Linked DNA regions of Homo sapiens: region 1 is linked to region 2. Evidence: promoter capture Hi-C in 16 types of primary human blood cells and fetal thymus (Javierre and others, 2016). All regions are on one chromosome and are shown on one strand. Each heading gives the region's core, a stretch centred on a gene start or on the middle of the fragment in contact. The rest is flanking DNA. Distances are from core to core; before and after follow the strand shown.

What was found. The method cuts DNA at HindIII sites, captures the fragments that hold promoters and counts their contacts. A CHiCAGO score of 5 or more calls a contact.
Region 1: the fragment with the promoter of AGPAT4 here is called in contact with the fragment with the promoter of SFT2D1 in region 2 in 1 of 17 cell types (M0 macrophages); the score reaches 5.2 in M0 macrophages.

What each region holds. Positions count from the first base shown.
Region 1 is chr6:161,272,712-161,278,062 of GRCh38, reverse strand. AGPAT4 (1-acylglycerol-3-phosphate O-acyltransferase 4) reads left to right here and starts at 4,002. Exons shown (of 9, transcript NM_020133.3): 1 at 4,002-4,125. The HindIII fragment of the contact is 1,627 bases long and covers 3,427-5,053 here.
Region 2 is chr6:166,339,743-166,344,552 of GRCh38, reverse strand. SFT2D1 (SFT2 domain containing 1) reads left to right here and starts at 2,008. Exons shown (of 8, transcript NM_145169.3): 1 at 2,008-2,134. The coding sequence starts at 2,072. LOC100289495 (a long non-coding RNA gene) reads right to left here and starts at 1,922. Exons shown (of 2, transcript NR_040022.1): 1 at 1,406-1,922. RefSeq lists an enhancer at 1,183-2,076 and a silencer at 2,138-2,297. The HindIII fragment of the contact is 4,850 bases long and covers 1-2,542 here.

The DNA of each region.
Region 1 (5,351 bases), core at 2,753-5,252, 5.1 Mb after region 2:
CAACACGAGGCAAGTGGAAATAAAGCAAAAATACTGTTAATGTGTAATAACATTGTGCTAACAGAATGGGCAATTTGTAACAATGCCATCAGTGACTCCACTATCTAGCACAACAGTTAATACATAGTGTGTAAGTTCACATTTCAGATAAGTGATAGTTATCATTTTAAGTACCAAAACTTAGGTTTAAAGAAGTTTCTGAGATATGCAGAATTCTACCTCTCACTGGGCTTTGAAAATATGTTACTCCTCAGGACTCACCGTGTCGTAAGCATCACTGATTATTGTTTATGTCTGTTCTAAATTGCAGAAACAGTTTCAGAAACCTAGGTTATTTGGTTTTTAGTCCTAATCTTGTTACTGTAAAAGTCACACGTGTTCATCCATTGTAGAAAGTTCTCCAAAGTGCAATCACATATAAAGAAGCAAATAAAAATCATCCTCAATCTCACTCTCCAGAAGTAATGATTATTAACAGTTTCATGATCTTCATCACACTGCATTAAGTTTCCCAGAGCTGCCATCACAAATTAGCACAAACTGTGTGACTTAAAACAACAGAAATTTATTCTCTTACAGTTCACGAGGCCAGGAATCTAAAATTAAGGCATCAGCAGGGTTGGGTCCTTCTGGAGGCTCTCAGAGAGTCTGTTCCATGCGTCTCTCCTGGTTTCTGGTGTTTGCCAGCAATCTTTGATTCATAGACACATCATTCCCATCTCTACCTCCGCCATCACATGGCCTTATTCTATGTGTGTGTCTTTCTGCATCCTCTCCTCTTTTTATAAGGACACCAGGTATTGGGTCTATAGCCCATCCTAATCCAGAATGACTTCGTCTCAGCTGATTAACATCTGCAAAGACTCTGTTTCTAAACAAATTCATATTGTGAGGTTCTGGGTGAACATGAATTTGTGGGGGACACTGGGGGACACTTATTCAACCCACTACACACACTGTAATATATATTTATAGAATCACGAAAACGGGACCATAATTTATATAAAGCTTAGTTCCCTTTACACTTAAGATACCATGAATTTCCCTAGGTCTTTCAAACACAGAATTTTAATTTTTTGTAGAGTGTTTCATCATATGAAGATTACATCATTTCCATAGCTAACCTGCTACTTCAAACACTCAGATGGTTTCCAGACTTTACTATTATAAATGGCTCTGATGAATATACATGTTCCCAAATCTTTGAATTTATCTCTGCTTATGTCCTTGGTATAAATTATTCTGAGTCGAATTATTGGATTAAGGGGTATGAACATTTTAAAGGCTCATGAAAAATCTTCTTTAATTGAATTCCAGAGATTGTATCAATTTGCCATCACCAGCAGAAGAGAGAACCCATGGCATTGCATTCTCTGCACTGCACGTTCTAGCTTTTTGAGTGTTGGACAAGTGACTAGGCAAAGAAATAACATCCTTACTTTGTGACTTGTATTTTTATGTAAGGTTGCCTCTTTGTTTACGGACCACTTATATATCTTTTTTAGGTTACCAATTTATGATTTGTGTCTCCTTTTCAATTTTTTTCTCCTCTCTCCAACTGCCAGTATTTATTTCTTACCATCTCACGGATGAGTATACTGTCCACCTCCACCCCTTTTAGAGTCCACTGTTAGCTAAGAAACTATGTAGATGTATCCTCCCTCTCCTTTTCCCATTCTCGAACCACCTCTGAATCTTGTACAAATGTCAATCATTGCCTCCATTGTGTCTTAACTGTTTACATTTCGCTTTCCCTTCTAAGACTTTGAGCACTTTGGGGCCATTTCCATGTCTTATCTGTGTTTTTGTATCTTCAGCAACTAACATGGATGCTCAATAAACATACATTGAACTGAGTTGTTACGTTGTGACCTGGAAATATTCACAATTCCTTGTATAGATAGAAATAGCTAAATAAGGGCACATAAGGATAGACTCTAAATGGCACTCAATAATGTGCATAGGGCTGGGCGTGGTGACTCCCTGCCTGTAATCACAGCACTTTGGGAGGTGGAGGTGGATCACCTGAGGTCAGGAGTTAGAGACCAGCCTGGGCAACATGGTGAAACTTCGTCTCAACCAAAAACACAAAAAATCAGCTGGGTGTGGTAGTGTATGTCTGTAATCCCAGCTATTTGGGAGGCTGCAGCACGAGAATTGCTTGAACACAGGAGGTGGAGGTTGCAGTGAGCTGAGATCGTATCATTGCACTCCAGCCTGGGCAACAGAGCAAGACTCTGTCTCAAAAAAAAAAGCATAGGATTTAATCCATGAATTTTGAATTTCTATGTTAAATTTTTAGAAATAGTAACTTTTTCTCCCATATTTCTCAGCTATATCTGAGATAACTGGGACTGAGCAACATTGTCTAGACAGGCAAAGTGTTAGCAATAATAAGTATAATAATAATTGTAATGTAATAATGGAATGAGGATGTTAAAGTACTGAGATCAGGATAAAAGTTACAATTGTCCAAATTTTAAATTTCCTATCATTTCCACTGAAATCACTGACTGTACTTATAACATTATCAGGAATTTATGCAATTTGTAGGTTTTGAAATAAATTACCATTCAGAATTCAACCGTGAAAAACAGTGTAACTCTACTTGAAAAACACTTTGAAAAACTCAAGTTTCCACCAAATCTAGAAGCACATGGGTCGTAAAACATAGTTCGAAAAGTTACGAGAGATGATGACTACAAGGAACTTTTTATAAAAATCTTTTATAAGCATTACTCTGTGGTCAAATTTATTTTCACATGGATATTAAAACAAGTTATTGCTACAAATGGGTTTCTGTTCTGATCCTTTTTTTGTTTGCCTCACATATCCTTTCTCTTCCACCACATTCTGCTTCACTCTCCCCGTCTCTCATCACAGACAAGAAAAATGCCACCTCCCATAGGACCCACTCCAAACCCTGTTTCCTGAATGATCAATGCCTTCCCCCATCGCAATCAAAAAAGCACTTTCTATTCTGTCTTCATGACACACTGGTTTTGACACTTGCATAGCTGTTAGTAATTCTGCAATGTGCTTGGGCTATTTGTGAGCACATGTATTTTTCCTTTATAGATTATAAACATCTAAAGAACAAGGTTAACCCAGGAGTCAAGTAAATAGTTAAATATTATTTTGACAATGGCTGTAATAGTGGACATTTGAAAGGAATACACCTCAGTATTTTGAAATTGAAATAATTTTCTAGATCCTGGCATTTCTGGACTTTCAACAGCCCACCCTTTTTAAAAATTGTGAAGACACTTTTACTATAAAGGTCTGCCCAGACCCTCTCTGATACACCTGTGTAAATGCCACGTGCATGTGAGCATGCGACAGTACGTGTGTGCACGCCTGTGCAGTGGTAATCAACCATGGTGCTAAGGTTTGAAAACAGAAAATACATCAATCGACCTCCAAGCTTCTTTCATCCCACTTCATAACATCTCAATCTCTTGAGTGCTGAGGCTTATTTTGTTTAAGATGATTTGGACTCTTCTGAGTGCAACGCAATCTCCTTCCAGCACAGCGGACCGAGGAGAGGTGAGGGGAGAGTTTTGAGGGTGGGCATATTGATCCTACGCTTGCTGAATTAAAAATGAGCCAACTGAGGACAATTTCCAGGTTGCAACACAGACGGAGCCGGAGTCTGGGTTGAGGTTAGAGGAGCCGTTAGGGCGCAGGGATGCAACAGGATTTGGGAGAAAGGGGAGAGAAAGCAAGGCCACTTCCAGGGGGCTTTCATTTTTTTTTTATCCTGGCAGCTTCCCGAGCCAGATTTCAAAAGCGATTTCAAACGTGAAGCCAACTGAAGCACTGCCTTACACTAATTGGAAGGGGAAGGGAGTGACTCATATTACACCAGCTCGCTCTTCCCTCTCGGCAACTGCTAACTTGTAGCTTTAAAAGGAAGTGACATGGGTGGGGAGAGACGTCAGCTGAGGACCACTTTTTTTTTTTTTTTCTTCCTGAAGGGTCCACCCCATGGGTGGAGTCTCGCTTTTTCTTTCCAGTGTTGGCTGACTTACAGCTCTTATAAACTAGTGGCAATTTCTGAACCCAGCCGGCTCCATCTCAGCTTCTGGTTTCTAAGTCCATGTGCCAAAGGCTGCCAGGAAGGAGGTATGTGGTCCTGGTGCCGTTCGCAGGCACCTTCCCCGCTGGGTGTGGCTGATGTTTGCATTCCTCTTCCCAGCATATTTTTCTCTCCTGGGCTGGATTTCCTTAGGACCTCTGGAAGGGGTAGGCTCCGGGGGCGGGGGGGGAGTGCAAGGCGGGCGGGGGAAAGGTGCAGGGGGCGCCTGGAGGGAGGCGAAGAGAGGCTCTGCTGGTACAAAAGGACCCTCGCTTTGTGCTGGGCCGGGTGAGCGTCCCTTTCTGGGCTGTGATTTCAAGCTGCTGTTCCTGGCTTCATTTACCCACCCACCCAGCCCCCTCCCGGGGCTAAAGCATTTTCTCTGCTATAGACGAAGCTGGGCGGGGGGTGGTGGTGGGGGGAATGTTCCTATTACATATTGCTCTCTTTTGTGTCATGCAACATGTTCTTCCGTCGCTGACGTTTCTATGGCAACCACAAAAATACTACACAATATGCAGCCCCGATATACATTGATTTATTTGTATTTTGTGTCTAGTTTGCAGCTTTCTGCTCTGCTTCTTGCTTTGGTTTGCTAAAATCCAGCATGGCTTGTGGCTACCCCTCCTCACTTTCATTTTGGTTTTTCCCTATCACAGGAGGGGTGGGGGAGGGGAGTTGTCAAGGAAACAGGCATTGGTAATTACCTCTCTATTTACCTAATTTTCGGCCTATGAATTTCTCCATATCGAGGAATTAAAAAAAGAATGCTTTGATGTTTATGTAAGTCTTCAGTGTCTGGTCTTTTTTTAGAAAACCTAAACACTTCTTAAGATAAGATATTGATCCTGTGGTCAAGCTAAGGGGGAATTAATTCCTTACAGGAGGTGAGATCATTGAAATAAAGTTTTAGAGAGCATTGGAGAATTCGCACTGATAAATGTGATATTGCCTGCCCAGGTTTGCCTAAAAGCTTAAATATTTAAAAGATGGGTCTTTGCTCTCATCTGCACTTATTTAGCTCCAAATCTTAAGTTCAACAAGTATGAGTAACAAATTAACTGCCGGGCAGGATTCTCCGTTTTTCGTTTTCGTGCATTGTTCTTAGATGGATTAGCCACGCTATTCACTCTCTTCAAGGTGAGGGTTGCTAGACTTTTTCAAAACTGTGGAAGGATTAACTCATCTGTGATTAGTCAACGACTCTCAGTTGGAAAAAAAGTATCTTGAGAGAAGGGAGAATGTGTGTGTTTGTGTGTGTGTGTGTGTGTGT
Region 2 (4,810 bases), core at 759-3,258:
CGCTCGGCCTATACTTGAAAATCTTGAAAGCAGTTATGTCAGATATGTGAACCAGAGAAGCCCATCTTGAATAGCGGCTGGGTAAAATGAGGTTGAGACCCACTGAGCTGCATTCCCAGACAGTTAAGTCATTCTAAGACACAGGATAAGATAGAAGGTCAGCACAAGATACAGATCATAAAGACCTTGCTGATGAAACAGACTGCAGTAAAGAAACCGGCCAAATCCCACCAAAACCAAGGTAACAAGAGAGACCTCTGGTCGTTCTCATTGCTACACTCCCACTAGCGCCATGGCAGTTTACAAATGCCATGGCAATATCACGAAGTTAGCCTATATGGTCTAAAAAGGGGAGGCATGAATCCACCCCTTGTTTAGCATATCATCAAGAAATAACCATAAAAATGGGCAACCAGCAGCCCTGGTAATAGACAGCCCTGCTCTGCCTATGGAGTAGCTATTCTTTTGTCCTTCTACTTTTTTTTTTTTTTTTTGAGACGGAGTCTCGCTCTGTCGCCCAGGCTGGAGTGCAGGGGCGCGATCTCGGCTCACTGCAAGCTCCGCCTCCCGGGTTCAAGCAATTCTCTGCCTCAGACTACCGATGTTCCTCTACTTTTTAAATAAACTTGTTTTCACTTGCCCTGAATTCTTTTTGCGCAAGATCCAAGAACCCTCTTTTGGGGTATGGATCCGGACCCCTTTCCCGTAACACTTACGGACATACTCTCTTATTCAACAGAAACATAGTTTTATTCTATAGATTTTACAATCTATTTTCTGACCTTTTAAAGTTAAGGACATAAGGATAAGACTTCTCATATTAGTATGAACAGGCCACATAGAAATATCTTCTGCCTAAAGGAAAAGGATGCTGAGCATTGGACCGTTTCATCACAAGAAGGCGCGACTTGCTTTCCTAGGGTTCCTGTGGTATTTGTTTTTATCTAATTGAGTTTAGATAAAATCTCTACTGAGGCAGTAGGATGGACAATGAAACTTTTTGAGGATCCACCTTTTAACTGAAAGATTTTAGGGAGGAAATGGAGTGGGCAAAGTAATCAAAAGAACAGGCATTCTCATTACCATCTTACCAAGCCTAGAAGCAAACAGAAGAGCAAAACCTATCACTTAATGACTTCTGGAGACCATATTAGACAGGCAGCCCTGATTTTTAATCTCCTTTCTTAGCATGGTGGAAAATGAGAGAGAGAAAAATGCCACTTCCCCATTTCTTAGTGTTTGTTCATCCAGCACGAGCCGGAGAACAGTAAACGCTTGTTCAATGGTTTCACTGTTCACACAAAACTGGAAAAATGGGTTGCATTAGCTATTCCTTTTATAAATAAGATTTCACTCTTTCAAACTCCTAGCTGACCAGTGAACTGAGTAAAGAAATAGCTCTCACAAGGGCAAAGGAGTGAGGCAGCCTCTTGCTATTTCTCCTGAGACGGTCTGAAATACAGCTCCTCGCTTTAATCCTGAGGCAGGTGTTTGTGTCTCCGGATGAGGACACCCAGCTGGGAAGGCTAGCGACGCCCCCAGGGCCACCTCATGGGTGGCAGGGCGCTCTTCGGAGCACGGCCACCTGCCCGCAGGAGCCCTCCGCTCTCCGATTCCAGGCGAGGGGAGGCGCATTCGGGGCCTCGACTTCTGGGAACCCGGGGTGCCGCGGACCCGCCCAGCAAGGCCCCTCGCGGGGCCCGGAGGACGCCAAGTGCAGGGTTCAGTGGTCGTGCCCCAGTCGGGTCTACACTCAATGGCTGTGCGCCAGCTGTGGGCAGGGGGTCCACACCCGCGCTGTGTCCCCGCGCGTTACCACGGCGCACCTCGCGGACAGTGGGAAGGGATAGCCCCACCATCAGCGCCCACTCCGCGGACTTCACGGACCACTACCGGGTCCGAGAGAAAGGCTGGTGAGCATGCGCGCATTGCTACGGCGGCCGCGCTGACGCACAGGAAGCGGGCGGGACCGGACTTCCGGCTGGTCTGTGGGGTTTCGGGTTCGGGGTTTCCTGGTGGGCGTCAGGGGCAGGCAACAGAGTGGCGGCCGCTACGGCCCTGTAACAGGGCCATGGAGAAGCTGCGGCGAGTCCTGAGCGGCCAGGACGACGAGGAGCAGGGCCTGACTGCGCAGGTAGCGAACTTGCGCCCTCGTCCAGTCCCGGGGCTGCCCGCTGGCCCCGGCCGCACTGAGGACCGGCCGAGCGGGTGGGGTGGGTGCGAGGCCGGGGGTCTGGGACTCCTCTGCCCGGCTGGTTGATTTAGGAGGGCTCCGCCTGCTTCCTGGGTAGAATTTGAGAACTTTCCAGTTTTCCATGCGGTCTACTTAAACCCACTTTGAGGCCCCCCCCCGACTCTCCCATCTGGCCTTCTGACTTAGGAATCCGCTAACGTCTGCCCTCGCTTTCCCAAATAATCCATCGCTCCCACGTACTATTTGGTTTTCTGAGCCTGGTGCGGGGTCTGGCCTCGGGCTGTGCAGCGTAAGTAGCTATGCAGGGCATTTATCCTGCAAGCTGCAGTGAGCCGAGACCCTAAAGCTTGTTGCATCTGTTTGTCTTTGGAGGTAAAGGTGGTGTTATGTGTGTGTTTGCTGGGGGGTGGTCTTTTGGAAATAGGGAGACTGGAGGAAAAATAAACAGGACATTGGTAAGTGAAATAATATTGAATTAAAATTTTTCTGTTAAGGCAGTGAGCCCTGGTAAGAGATTTTTTTTTTTTTCTTAATAAAAGCCCTTGTGTCTGCGCCTTACCAGCGAGACTTGATAAGGGTTACTTCCTCCAGCAAGAAGGTTAAAAGTAGCAGTGGAGCAGGAACTGCGGTGTAAGTTTTTTTGTTATTGCATGCGATTATATTGCACGTTATTGTGTGCTGTCGCAGAAGTTGGACGTTTAAAATTGAATTGTATTTCATAAGGATCTTCTATTTGTCTCTCCTGACTTCCTTGTCATTATACTTACTCAGCACTTGGTGTGGGTAGAGTTCTGGGCTACAGTTTTGGGTTCAGAGAGTGTAAGACAAGTATCTGTTCTCATTGCACTCTGTAACTCTGTATATTACCACAGCCACATGTGGCCAATGAATTTTTTTTTTTTTTTTTTTTAGATGGAGTCTTGCTTTGTCGCTCAGGCCTGGAGTGCAGTGGCGTGATCTCGACTCGCTGCAACCTCTGCCTCCCGGGTTCAAGCAATTCTCCTGCCTCAGCCTCCTGAGTAGCTGGGATTACAGGCACCTGCCACCATGCCCTGCTAATTATTTTGTGTTTTTAGTAGAGATGGGGGTTTCACCATGTTGGTCAGGCTGGTCTCGAACTCCTGACCTCAAGTGATCCGCCCACCTTGACCTCCCAAAGTGCTTGGATGACAGGCTTGAGCCACTGCGCCTGGAGCAATTAAATTTAAATTAATTAAAATTAAATAAAATTTAACATTCAGTTCCTTAGTCACAGCAACCACATTTCACATGTTCAGTAGGCACATGTGGTTAAAGGCTACTGTATTAAACAGCGCAGATACAGAACATTTGCATTGCAGAAAGTTCTATTGGACAGTGCTACTCTAAACTTTGGAGATGCAAAGGTAATATCACTTATCTTGAGCCCACTGTCTAGAGGGGAGAAAGATATGTGGAGAAGTAATCAATCAAAGATTAGAGTGACTGGCTGTATAGACAAGTGCTGTGAGTTCAGAGGAGGTGATCGTTCATTAACAAATATTCAAGTTCCTGCATATGTTTGACATTGTTCAAGATGCAGGTGTTAATAACAGTGACCAGTGCAAATACCTCTTTCACATGGAACTTAAATTTTAATTGGAGGAAACAGTGAATAAACAAGTATATAATGTGTCAGACAGCCACAGAAAAAGTCAGAGCAGGTTGAGGAGGTTGGGGTTGCCATATTACTTAGATAAGGCCTCCCTGCCAGGGAGTCATGTGAGCACAGCTCAGAAGAGCTGCTGGGATGTCTGAGCATCCTGTGAATAAAAGCCTCCAAGGCAGATACAGAGTCCCAAGTGGTGTGTGGTCAGCATGTTCAGGGCCAGTAAGGAGGCCAGAGGGGCTCTAGCAGCGGGGCAGAGAAGAGGGACAATTGTAGAAGAAAAGGTGAAGCAGGAAGGGGGATTCTCAATTGTGAGGGTTCTCATAGGCCATAGAAAGGATTTTAGCTTTACTCTGAGTGTGATAGGAAGCCTTTGGGTTTAGAGCAGAGTGGTGGTGTGACCGACTTGGATTTTAAAGGATCACTCTGGCAGCTCTGTGGAGAACAAACTGTAGAGGCAATGTTAGAAGCCCAGAGACTGGGCTGGAGACAAGTACAGTTGTCCTGGCAAGAGATGACTGTGGCTCAAATCAGTGATAGAAGTGGTTTAAAGAGCAAAAAAGCCTGTTTAAAAAACAAAAAAGTGGTCAGATTCTGTAAATGGTCTGAGTGTACAGCCAGCAGGCCACACTGTTGACGGATTGGATGTGTGAGAGTGGGAGGAGGCAAGGATGCCTCATGGCATTCGACCTGAGCATCTGGAGAGGTGGAGTTGCCATTAAGTGACTGTGGGAGGAGCAGGTTCAGGGAGGAAAATCATTTCAGTGTGGACGTGAAGTCTGAGATCCAGGTAGCATCCAAGTGGAGATGTGAGGAAAGCAGTTGGACGTAACACTGTAGAGTTTGTGGGAGGAAATAGGAGAGAGATGAGATCGTCAAGATGAGGTCCAAGGTTTGACCTCTGGTTTTCTCTAGGTGTGTAGAAGTTTAGAGGATGAGCAGAAGCCGGCAAAGACAGCTGAGAGGCGTGGCGAGAGAAGGAGGAGGAG